Linked DNA regions of Homo sapiens: all the other regions are linked to region 1. The links are contacts of gene promoters, found by promoter capture Hi-C in blood cells and fetal thymus (Javierre and others, 2016). All regions are on one chromosome and are shown on one strand. Each heading gives the region's core, a stretch centred on a gene start or on the middle of the fragment in contact. The rest is flanking DNA. Distances are from core to core; before and after follow the strand shown. Region 1 holds the start of CGREF1 (cell growth regulator with EF-hand domain 1). Region 2 overlaps CAD (carbamoyl-phosphate synthetase 2, aspartate transcarbamylase, and dihydroorotase). Region 3 overlaps SLC5A6 (solute carrier family 5 member 6).

Region 1 (3,774 bases), core at 432-2,931:
AACATAATTACCCTAATAAACACATGAAAGCCACCATAACTGTTAACAGTTGCCATGTAATTTAATAAAGTTATGTCACACACGTGCACTCACACATTCACAATGACCCTCCGGCCCCAGTGTTCTTCAAGCCTTTGCACCAGTGCATGGGAGGAGAGCACGCTCTACAGGTTAGACTTCTGATCAAATCCTGCCTCTGATACTACTCACTGTGGGACCTAGGCAGGTGTCTTAACCTCTCTGAGCCCTGGGATCTGAATTTTTTTTTTTTTTTTTTTTTGAGGCGGAGTCTCGCTCTGTCGCCCAGGCTGGAGTGCAATGGCACGATCTCGGCTCACAGCAAGCTCCGCCTCCCGGGTTCACGCCATTCTCCATTCTCCTGCCTCAGCCTCCCGAGTATCTGGGACTACAGGCGCCTGCCACCACGCCTGGCTAAATTTTTTTTGTATTTTTAGCAGAGACGGGGTTTCACCGTGTTAACCAGGATGGTATCGATTTCCTGACTTCGTGTTCCGCCCGTCTCGGCCTCCCAAAGTGCTGGGATTACAGGCGTGAGCCACTGCTCCTGGTCGGGATCTGCATTTTAAAAATGAGGATAACGGTATCTGTCTCCTAAAGGTTTGGGGAGGCTGCAATGAGAAAACTTAGGGTAGGTGCCTGGCACCAAGCAGGTGCTGCTTGGGTATTTCAGAGCCTCTGGGCTGTGGCAGGGGCCTTGCAGGGTTATCCTGGGTAACTTCCCATCCAAAGCAAAAATTTCTTCCTCAGCAACCCTGTCAAATGGCCTCTGCTTGAATCATTCCAGGACAGGAACCTAGCACCTCACAGGCCGGCAGTTCCATCTCCTGTAGAGTCGAACTGTTGGGAAGCTAAAATTTTGAGTAGAATCCTCTCCCTTAATTCTTAATTTATCCCTCTGGTGCCCTTGTGCCTCCCAGCACCCATCCCCCAAGAAAGGAGACAGCGGCTACAGGGCTAGAGGAGCCCACACCCGGGAGCTGGTCCCTCGGCCACCTGCAAGCGGACGACAGCCTCGGGCCCTCCCCAGCGCTCCATTTCTTCCCCGTCGGATGAGGGGGAAAGCTCCCGCCAGCTGCCCCTCCCCCAGGACTGCTGGAACACGGAATGCGGGGCTGGGGGAAGCGCCTGGGGAACTGCGAAGCCCCAAATTCACACCAAGGAGCCTCAGGCTCGCTCTCCAGTCCCTTCCTCCACCTGCCCTCAGGGTACACAGGGGCAAGGGCCACTGCTCCCGCCGCGTCTGAGCCGCAGGGGATGCAGAGGGACTGCGCTCTCGGGATCTGGACCAGAGGCTGGAGGCCACCTACCCCGCGCGGCCCTGGCTGGCTGACGGCGATGGGCTCGGGTCTCCGGCCGGCCGGGGCGGGGTGTCACCCACCTGCTGCGGCGCCGCGCGGCTCTGGGGGTCCAGCTCCGTGGGCGCTCCTGGCTGCTGCGCCGCCCGCGCCTCGCCTCCCGCCGCCAGCCTCCCCCGGGCCGCTCCACGTGGCCGCTCCACGTCGCCCTCCCGGCTGGAGCCGCCGCCCTGGCCGGGCAGAGTCCGGAGCCAGTGCCAGCCGCCGCCCCGCCCGCCGGACCTGGCCCTTCGCAGCTCCACCAGCGCCCCCGCTGCGCCCGCGGCCGGAGGGGCTGCGCGCGCCCGTGTGAGTGTGCGCGTGTGTGCGTGCGTGAGTGCGCATGTGCGCGTGTGCGAGTCCGCGTGTGCTCGTGAGTGCGCTCGTGTGCTTGTGCGGGTGTGCACATGCGTGTGACATTGTGAGCGTGAGTGTGAGCATGTGTAAGGATGCACGTGTGTGAGCGTGCATGTGTGCGCGGATGTGTGCGTGTGCCTGTATGCACACATGTGAGTACAGAGAGACCAAGAGACAGTGAGGCCAGTGTGCATCAGAAGTATGTTTAACTGTGCTCATGCTTTGGTTGCCACTTTCTCTGCCTGAGGGACCCAGATGTATGTGACAAAATGGAACCTAACTTACTGTTAGCATGTGCGGTTGTGACTGGCATGTGTGGCTCTGTGTATGAGGAATTTGTGACACGGTAGGGGGTATTTTGTGTGACTGTGCATCCGTGTGATAGTGTGGGCTTCAGGGGCCGGGCGTGGTGGCTCACACCTGTAATCCCACCACTTTGGGAGGCCAAGGCGGGTGGATCACGAGGTCAGGAGATGGAGACCATCCTGGTTAACACAGTGAAACCCCGTCTCTACTGAAAATACAAAAACATTAGCCGGGCATGGTGACGGGCGCCTGTAGTGTCAGCTACTCGGGAGGCTGAGGCAGGAGGATGGCATGAACCTGGGTGGTGGAGCTTGCAGTGAGCCGAGATCACGCCACTGCACTCCAGCCTGGGTGACAAAGCAAGACTGAGACTCCGTCTCAATAAATAAATAAATAAATAAAAAATAAATGATAGTGTGGGCTTCAGGGTATGGCCAATGTGTGACTGACTGCCCAGGGGTGTGGCGGTGCAGAGTGTTAGAGGCATATGTATTGGGGTGTCAGGGTGAACTCTTCCTGAGTTGTTTGTGACACTCCATCACAGCGACACTGTCATCACAGCGACAAGCCCACTCTCATCCTGTCCTCCTCCCAGTGATGAACACTGCTTGTCACTGCCTTTTTAGATCACGGATTCTGCTGGTTTCGGCAATACCTCTCCTACCTCTGGTCATTTCAAAAAGGTCTCCATTTTCTTCACCGTCAGAGTTCCTCAGGGCCCTCTCCTCACTTTCCATCTGCTCATGTGCTCATCTGCTCACCTAGCTCCCATCACTGTTATGCATTGACTCGTGTCCTTCACAAAGTTATATGTTGAAGTCTTAACCTCCAATACCTCAGACTGTGACCTTATTTGGAAATAGGGTCATTGCAGATGTAATCCATTAAGATGAGGTCATACTGGAGTAGGGTGGGCCCCTAATCAATATGACTGGTGTTCATATCAAAAGAGGAAATGTGGACACAGACACACACATAGGAAGAACATTGCTATGGCCTGAATATCCCACCAAATTCATGTGCTGAAACTTAGTCCCCATTGTGGTGATATTAAGAGGAGGAAGCCAGGCACAGTGGCTCACACCTGTAATCCCAGCACTTTGGGAGGCCGAAGTGTGAGGATCTCTTGAGGCCAGGAGTTTTCGACCAGTCTGGGCAACATAGTGAGACCGTGTCTCTACAATAAATAAATAAATAAAAATTAGGCATGGTGGTGCACGCCTGTAGTCCCAGCTATTTGGGAGGCTGAGGCAGGCAGATCCCTTGAGTCCAGGAATTTGAGGTTACAGTGAGCTGTGATCCTGCCACTGCACTCCAACCTTGGTGACAGAGCGACATCCTGCCTCTGAAAAAAACCAAAAAGGAGTAGGGCCTTTTGGGACATGATGAAACCATGAGGGCTCTCCCCTCATGAAGGGATTAATGACCTTATGAAAGAGGTTTCTGAGAGAGTTCACCCCTCTTGCTCTCTTGCCTTTCTGTCCCTTCCATCACATGAGGAAACCCAGACGCACCATCTCTGAGGAATGGACCTTCACAGACACCGAACCTGCCAGTGCCTGGATCTTGGACTTCCCAGTCTCCAGAACTGTGAGGAATAAATTTCTGTTGTTTGTAAATTACTCAGTCTGTGGGATTTTGTTATAGCAGCACAAACTCACTAAGATGTTTGTGAAGATGAAGACAGAGATCAGGGTGATGCTTCTACCAGTCAGGGAGTGCCAAAGATTTCCAGCAAAATGCCAGAAGCCAGGGG
Region 2 (3,774 bases), core at 322-2,821, 120 kb after region 1:
CAGGAGCTACAGGTCACAGGACCCTTCAATCTGCAGCTCATTGCCAAGGTAATAAGGCTAAAGGAAAGAACTAAAGGGCCACAGCTCTTGCATGTTCTGTGCTGGCCACAGTGCCATGAAGCCCTGCACTGTCTCCTGCCTTCATCCAAGTAGGCAGGGAAGCTGGAGGGAAAGGGCTGTAGCTAGAGCTCATGGTGTTGGGGCTTATGACAGTCAGTGACCCTGAACCCTGCTCAGTCTGATCCCCCAGAGCTGAGGACGGAGAGGAAGAGTCTAGGCCTATAGATAGTGTCAGCAAGGCCAACCTGCAGAAGGCCTGACCAGTCTTCTCTGCCCCAGGATGACCAGCTGAAAGTTATTGAATGCAACGTACGTGTCTCTCGCTCCTTCCCCTTCGTTTCCAAGACACTGGGTGTGGACCTAGTAGCCTTGGCCACGCGGGTCATCATGGGGGAAGAAGTGGAACCTGTGGGGCTAATGACTGGTTCTGGAGTCGTGGGAGTAAAGGTAAGGAATATCGAAACCCTTGGGGTTAGCAGAAAAATAGCGGGAGAGAGTTCACTCACCACACAGAGTTGTCAGTATGTAAACCAGGCACTGACTGCAAGGCATTGCCGGATCGTGGGGGTAATGAGGTGGTCATTGTCCCTTAAGAGCTTACTTTATGGTAATGGGAGGGAAGAGAAGTTGGATCCCCAAAAAAGCTTTGGTATAGAACAGTCCGTGGTAAAACTACATATTCGACCTGTAAACAGAATGCTGCAGGAGTTCAAGAGACAGGAGGTGCTGCTTCCAAAAGGGGTGATCTGGGAAGGCTTGAGCGAAGGGGTGCTATTTGAATTGAGTTTTGAAGGATGGTTAAGGTTTTTTATTTGCAAGGGCACATCCTAAGCAGAAGCTGAGGGATGACCCCAAGTACGTTTGGAAAGCAGGAGGGCACACAGAGAGGGCAGGCTGACCCTGCCATTCAGATGGGATCAAGCACAGGGTACTGTGTCCGTCTCTGCTGGTGAGGGAGGAGGTCCTCTCACACCTTGGCCCTCTCTCTTCCCTCCCGCCCCTTTAGGTGCCTCAGTTCTCCTTCTCCCGCTTGGCGGGTGCTGACGTGGTGTTGGGTGTGGAAATGACCAGTACTGGGGAGGTGGCCGGCTTTGGGGAGAGCCGCTGTGAGGCATACCTCAAGGCCATGCTAAGCACTGGCTTTAAGATCCCCAAGAAGAATATCCTGCTGACCATTGGCAGCTATAAGGTATCAGAATCCAGGAGGGCTTCCCGAGGGCCGTGGCTCCCTGGGCCAGGGCTGACCTTGAAATGGAAGACAGGAAGAAAACAATTTCATCCTTCTGTTTGGTTTCAGAACAAAAGCGAGCTGCTCCCAACTGTGCGGCTACTGGAGAGCCTGGGCTACAGCCTCTATGCCAGTCTCGGCACAGCTGACTTCTACACTGAGCATGGCGTCAAGGTGCAGGAACTCTGGCAACCTACCCCACTGCTGCCCTTCCCCAAGGGGGTGAAAATACTGCACCAAAGAATTATCTGGGCTGGGCACGGTGGCATATACCTGTAGTCCCAGATACTCAGGAGGCTAAGGCAGGAGAATCTCTTGAGCCCAGGAGGTAGAGGCTGCAGTGAGCTGCGAGTGTGCAGTGAGTGCACCACTGCACTCCAGCTTGGGAAACAGTGAGATGCTGTCTCAAAAAAAAAAAAAACAAAGAATTATCTCCTATTCCCCTGCTTTTATTATTACCATTATACTAGTAAGCTATATTCCATGCAGAAAGCAGAATACACAGGAAGCAAAGAGAAAAGTCTCTTAAAATCTCTGTACCACTGTTCTGATATTTTTCCTTCCAGGATTTTCTCTGTGTACATGTGTGTGAGCTCATACTGCACCTAGTCCTTGGTAACCCATCTTACTTAGTGTAGATATCTTTCCTGCCAAGAAATACACTTTGCCAGTATCAAATAGAGGCAGCCCTCAGTGCCCACCCTATGGGTCCTCAGTCTCCTCATCATGGGCTCCTGGGCCAGCTCCTCTCCCTTAAGGCTAGCCTTCCTGACCGCTGCCAGACAGCTTGGCCCTGACCTTGACTCCGGGTTGGCAGGTAACAGCTGTGGACTGGCACTTTGAGGAGGCTGTGGATGGTGAGTGCCCACCACAGCGGAGCATCCTGGAGCAGCTAGCTGAGAAAAACTTTGAGCTGGTGATTAACCTGTCAATGCGTGGAGCTGGGGGCCGGCGTCTCTCTTCCTTTGTCACCAAGGGCTACCGCACCCGACGCTTGGCCGCTGACTTCTCCGTGCCCCTAATCATCGATATCAAGTGCACCAAACTCTTTGTGGAGGTAACTGAGACCCATGTGCTGGGAGGGAGACTGCCAGTGTTGATGGGAAGAAGAAAGAGGGAGGAGTGAGTATGGAACAGCCATGCTAGTAATAAAGCTTTGTGGCTACAGAGGGAGAGATGGTGGGTATAGAGTGTGCAGAGCCTGGTTTATGGGAAAACCACATCTCTCCCTACAACTCCCAGGATCACCCTTCCCTTAAAGCTGACTGCTTTCCACTTGCAGGCCCTAGGCCAGATCGGGCCAGCCCCTCCTTTGAAGGTGCATGTTGACTGTATGACCTCCCAAAAGCTTGTGCGACTGCCGGGTAAGTCTTTGGGGAGAACTTGGCTTCTGAACACTGGCAGCCCCTGGCATAGAGACCTGCAGTGTGGTGAAGGATGGCTGGGGGGCCCACTCTTTGTCCTGGACTGCACAGACTGTGAAGACCCCAGAATGTTTCTCACTCTTTCATTCCTTAATCCACAGTGTCCACAGTGGCCTTGTCTGAGGAATTTTTTTTTTTTTTTTTTTTTTGAGACAGAGTCTTACTCCATCGCCCAGGTTGGAGTGCAGTGGTGTGTGATATCGGCTCACTGCAACCTCCGCCTCCCAGGTTCAAGCGATTTTCCTGCCTCAGCCTCCCAAGTAGCTGGGATTACAGGTGTGTGCTACCACACCAGGCTAATTTTTGTGTTTTTAGTAGAGACGGGGTTTCACCATGTTGGTCAGGTTGGTCTCGAACTCCTGATCTCAGGTGATCTGCCCACCTCGGCCTCCCAAAGTGCTAGGATTACAGGCGTGAGCCACCATGTCCAGCTCACCCTTCCTATTTCTGAATCTTCCTGTAATCTTGCTGCTTCCATTTTCTCCCAGGATTGATTGATGTCCATGTGCACCTGCGGGAACCAGGTGGGACACATAAGGAGGACTTTGCTTCAGGCACAGCCGCTGCCCTGGCTGGGGGTATCACCATGGTGTGTGCCATGCCTAATACCCGGCCCCCCATCATTGACGCCCCTGCTCTGGCCCTGGCCCAGAAGGTGAGCCACTGCACTCTTCCTGGTATTGGAGACCCATATGCCCCTACCAGCCACCCTTGCTTCCCTGAGCCCTTTTCCTTCTGCCCCGCCCTATGGGCCCAGGCCACTGGTGCCAGGCTAGCCTGTGTGGGCATGGGTGCCAGTGAGCCTTACCTCTGTGTATCCTCTCCAGCTGGCAGAGGCTGGCGCCCGGTGCGACTTTGCGCTATTCCTTGGGGCCTCGTCTGAAAATGCAGGAACCTTGGGCACCGTGGCCGGGTCTGCAGCCGGGCTGAAGCTTTACCTCAATGAGACCTTCTCTGAGCTGCGGCTGGACAGCGTGGTCCAGTGGATGGAGGTAGGGAGTGTGCATGTGGCAGGAGGCCACCACCCAGTGTCTCCTGGCTTGTGGGCCCCTGCCTAAGTGG
Region 3 (3,774 bases), core at 391-2,890, 81 kb after region 1:
CAGTCTGGTCTGGAACTCCTGGCCTCAAGCAACCGTCTTGCCTCGGTCTCCCAAAGGAATCTTTTCTAAATAATAATTATAGGCTTCTTATCTTCCCATCATTGAAGTTTTAATTCACAGGACAAAACAAAATAGGCCTGAGTCCAAGGGCCCCTCGTAAAATGTTTCCATGTCCTCTTACATAGACTCACTTCCACCCTACCTAATTCAGCAAATTAAACCCTGGGGATCATTCTCCCCAGTTCTCCCTGGAGTACCACTCAGGCATGTCTGAAATATGGTAGATTCAGTGGACACACCTTTGGCCTGTCAAAGTACCTTCCCAGACTGAGAATAGATCATGACCAGACACCTGAAGTCCATACTGGAAGGAATGTTTATGTTCAAGACCAGAGCCTTGTGGAATGGAAAAAAAAATCCAGGGCAACAGGTTTAAGACCCATTAGGAGACAATATTGTCGTCATGAATATAAATGAGGCCTAGGCAGGTTGGGAGTAGCTAGTGTCTTGGCTCTGGCACAACCAGGCCCTGTTCCTCCACAGGGCTGGCCAGGGCAGAGGTGAAAGGGGCTGGGGTGTGACCGAGTGAGCTGGGGTAGAGGTAGAAAAAGGGACACAGAACATCCCAGGCCTAAGCTACATGGAGTATGAGAGAACAGCTGGAATGTGCTCTAGAAGCCCTGGGAGAAGGCCTCAGTTGAGGCTGAATTCAGATATGCCTGGGACCCGGTCTCTGTTAAGAGACCCCGGAGAGCTGGTGCAGAGCTGATGTGGGCAGCTGAACAGGGCCAGGCAGGGGCAGAGGCCAGGTGTGGGAGGGTGTGAGCACAGTGTTCTTCACAAGACCATAAAAGTCCAGCTAGAATGTTCCGTTTCTAAAATCAGATGGGAACATTCTTCCTCCAGTTCCAAAAGTAAAAATCTGAGAGCAAAAGGTTCTGGCAAAGGGAAAGTGGGGCCGGAGAAGGGACAGACTAAGTAAGCCCCAGGGGATGAGAAGCCCTAGGAGAGGGTGTGCATCTTCTACCATGGTGAGCACAACACTGTCCCCTGCAGACACAGGGACAGCAGGGACTTGAAGCCACAGCCCCCCTCCTCAGCACAGGAAGGTGACCTGTACATAGGATAGGACTCCTTATCCTCACCAGAGGATGCAGTAGGGTGGACAAGAGCAGGTGAAGACAGTACAGGAGCCCAAATTCTAGGTCCAATGGTAGTTTTTATTCCCCAGGAACAAAGATAATGTGGAGAAGAAACTCCAAAAGGAAACAGAGCACGGATGACAGAAATGACACCACGGCAGCCTGGCTCAGGAGTCAGGTAGATAGATGGCTGCTCCACAGTGGACCCGGTCATGGCCCTGGTTTCTTGGATCCACATTTGCCCCGTCTCTTAAGTGTCCATCTCAGAGGTGGAGGATGGAGACAGTGAGGTGGAAAACGTGCTTGCTCTACACAAAGACAAATGGATCTTCTATTCCCAGAGGACCAGGGACACCAAAACCTCCCTCTTCAGAATGGAGGTAGACAGATAAAAATGAGAGGGGCTTGAGTGTCACAGACAATCTGAAAGTAATAATAGGGGCTCACTGTGGCTGGCAGAACTGGTACTGAAATGGGGACTACAGGGGAAGCAGCTTCCAGTTTTATGGTGGAGAGTCAGTCCTGAATCAGGCCCTGGGGCAATTATAACCAGAGTGCTGTTTCTAGCCACTTACTTCAAAGGACTATGGCTATGTTGAATCAGAAGCCATTATCTTTTTCCCAGAGGATGCACTTCCATCCCTATTTCTGGCATGATCCTGCTCCCTACGAGCCTGATCCTTTAAAAAACAGATTGGCAAGCGACGAGAAAAACGGTGCCTCACATGCTTGAGATGTGACAGCTTCTCCTGCAGGCAAGAACCTCTCAGAACAAGGTCCTTTGGTATGAGCTAGATCATCCAGGCCTGTCCCTGCAGAACACACCAAGACTCATCCCTGTACTACAGGGTGGCCTCTGGCTATGGCCTGGCACAGTGAGGACAGAGGCGGGGTCCTGAGTCAACATCACAGGGAGGTCTCCTGGAGGATGCAGGTGGAGCTGCTCCCCTGATAGGCTGTGCCATCCAGGGCCATGGCCTCCTTGTCTCTGCTGTCCCCCAGCACACCATTCCTCGGCTTCTCAGGAAACAGGCCAGTGTCGAGGTGGTCCTGCAAACACAGAGCCAAAGGGGTGGAACTGGTGAAGACGGATGACGGGTGCTTGACAGGATTCACACAAAAAAGGTCCCCGCCAGAAGGGAGCCCAGCAAGGCTGGGTTCGGGAGGGAGAGCAGGGGGAAAAGAGGGAGGGCATAGCACAGCAGGGAGCACAGGGTGGGCTGGGGAGGGGAGCTGACTGGCCCAGGCTGGGGCTGAGCTCCTCTGAGCCCTGAGATCCTTCTGCCCACCAAGCCAGTGCAGTCCTGTGGGTAGAACCTGAGACAGCCGTGTGGGACAGCCTAGGCTTAGCTGATCCTGAGAGAGGCACCCGGGGCAGGGGGAGAGAAAAGGGGTAGAAGGGAACCTGAAGAGTCAGTGGCATCTGTGGAGAAGGGCAGGGAGGGGTCACTTGGACAGCAGGTACTACCTGGCCGTAGCTCCTGCAGTGGAGCCGCTTCTGACAGGACAACGGAAGGAGGGACAGGAGCTTTGGCAACACTGGGTAAATGGTTGCAGGGTTCAGGGACCGGCCTCGCATTCTCCCTGAATGGAAATGTGCTTCTGAGTCTCTGGGTGGAACCATCCACAGCAGCGGGCCCCATGTCCTCCCTTGGCCCCCAGAGACCCCAGCCCCCACCCACCTCCTACATCCCAGCAGAAAAGCCTGACAGCTACGGACACCCAAGAGCTCAGAGGGCAGGAGCCTTTCTCCCTAGAGTCCCTTAGGGCCCTCTGTTAACCCCTCGGTGCTCATCTGCACCGCAATCCCACACCCTTACCAGTGAGTAGACTGACAATCAGGCCCACCACAATCACTGTGGTGGAGTTGTGAGCACTGTACCATAAGTAAGACAAGGAATAGAACCGCTGCAGCCCTGTGGGCCTGGGAAGAGCAGAGGTGAGAACAATTAGCAATTCGTTGGCAGGGCATTCCTTGGGCACCAATCTCTACTTGCCCGCATGGTCCCAGGGTCTTGGGACCCAATACCCAACATTTCCCTGGGGCCTCTGGTGGCCCATCCCTTAGCAAGACCCCTGTGAAAGCCCTCAAAGGAGGGCTTTGAGAAAACAAGAAGATAGCAAGCCCTGCCTTACTTGGAGAAGGTAGTCAAGGGCATCAGTGTGGTCACAGTGGCAACGGTTAGATTGGTGGGCAGGGAGAAGCTGGACCCATTAGAGGGAGAGGGTGGCATGCTGGAGCCCATGCTGGTCACGATGCTCCCGATGCCAATCCAGAAGGCCATGACGAGCCCAGCCAACAGGCCCACAACAGCACCCTGCCGAGACACAGTGCAGGCCTGTCACAAGGCCAGTCCTGCCAGCCCTCACGGCAGTCCTCAGCTCTCCTGGTGACAGCCCTGCCAACCCCCAGGTCCATCCTGCTACACATGACTGTGGATCCAGATGCATCACTCACAGGAGGGTTAGCACATGGAAAGAACATTCCAAGGCAGAAGAGTCCCAGCAGCGGTCCCCCAACCATGCCAAAGATGCTGATTGCTGCCTAGGAGGACAGGGTGAGAAGAAAAGGAAAAAGAACACAGACTCAGAGATGCCCAGACTCACCATAAAGCATAGCCACCAGCCATGA

The links. The method cuts DNA at HindIII sites, captures the fragments that hold promoters and counts their contacts. A CHiCAGO score of 5 or more calls a contact.
Region 2: a fragment that was not itself captured here is called in contact with the fragment with the promoter of CGREF1 in region 1 in 6 of 17 cell types (naive B cells, M1 macrophages, M2 macrophages and 3 more); the score reaches 7.2 in naive B cells.
Region 3: a fragment that was not itself captured here is called in contact with the fragment with the promoter of CGREF1 in region 1 in 8 of 17 cell types (M2 macrophages, M1 macrophages, megakaryocytes and 5 more); the score reaches 11.1 in M2 macrophages.

The regions. Positions count from the first base shown.
Region 1 is chr2:27,117,447-27,121,220 of GRCh38, forward strand. It overlaps CGREF1 (cell growth regulator with EF-hand domain 1), which reads right to left and starts at 1,682. Exons shown (of 6, transcript NM_006569.6): 1 at 1,400-1,682. It overlaps LOC124907744 (a long non-coding RNA gene), which reads left to right. Exons shown (of 2, transcript XR_007086252.1): 2 at 1-39. RefSeq lists enhancers at 614-1,114, 1,115-1,615. The HindIII fragment of the contact is 4,689 bases long and covers 1-3,774 here.
Region 2 is chr2:27,234,179-27,237,952 of GRCh38, forward strand. It overlaps CAD (carbamoyl-phosphate synthetase 2, aspartate transcarbamylase, and dihydroorotase), which reads left to right. Exons shown (of 44, transcript NM_004341.5): 22 at 1-48; 23 at 340-507; 24 at 1,067-1,249; 25 at 1,358-1,462; 26 at 2,106-2,345; 27 at 2,571-2,652; 28 at 3,201-3,367; 29 at 3,540-3,704. Among named protein-coding and RNA genes, the nearest start is that of CAD, 19 kb to the left of the region's middle. The HindIII fragment of the contact is 1,738 bases long and covers 703-2,440 here.
Region 3 is chr2:27,198,388-27,202,161 of GRCh38, forward strand. It overlaps SLC5A6 (solute carrier family 5 member 6), which reads right to left. Exons shown (of 17, transcript NM_021095.4): 13 at 3,601-3,687; 14 at 3,279-3,460; 15 at 2,963-3,066; 16 at 2,611-2,726; 17 at 1,200-2,192. The coding sequence ends at 2,049. Among named protein-coding and RNA genes, the nearest start is that of ATRAID, 12 kb to the right of the region's middle. The HindIII fragment of the contact is 6,317 bases long and covers 1-3,774 here.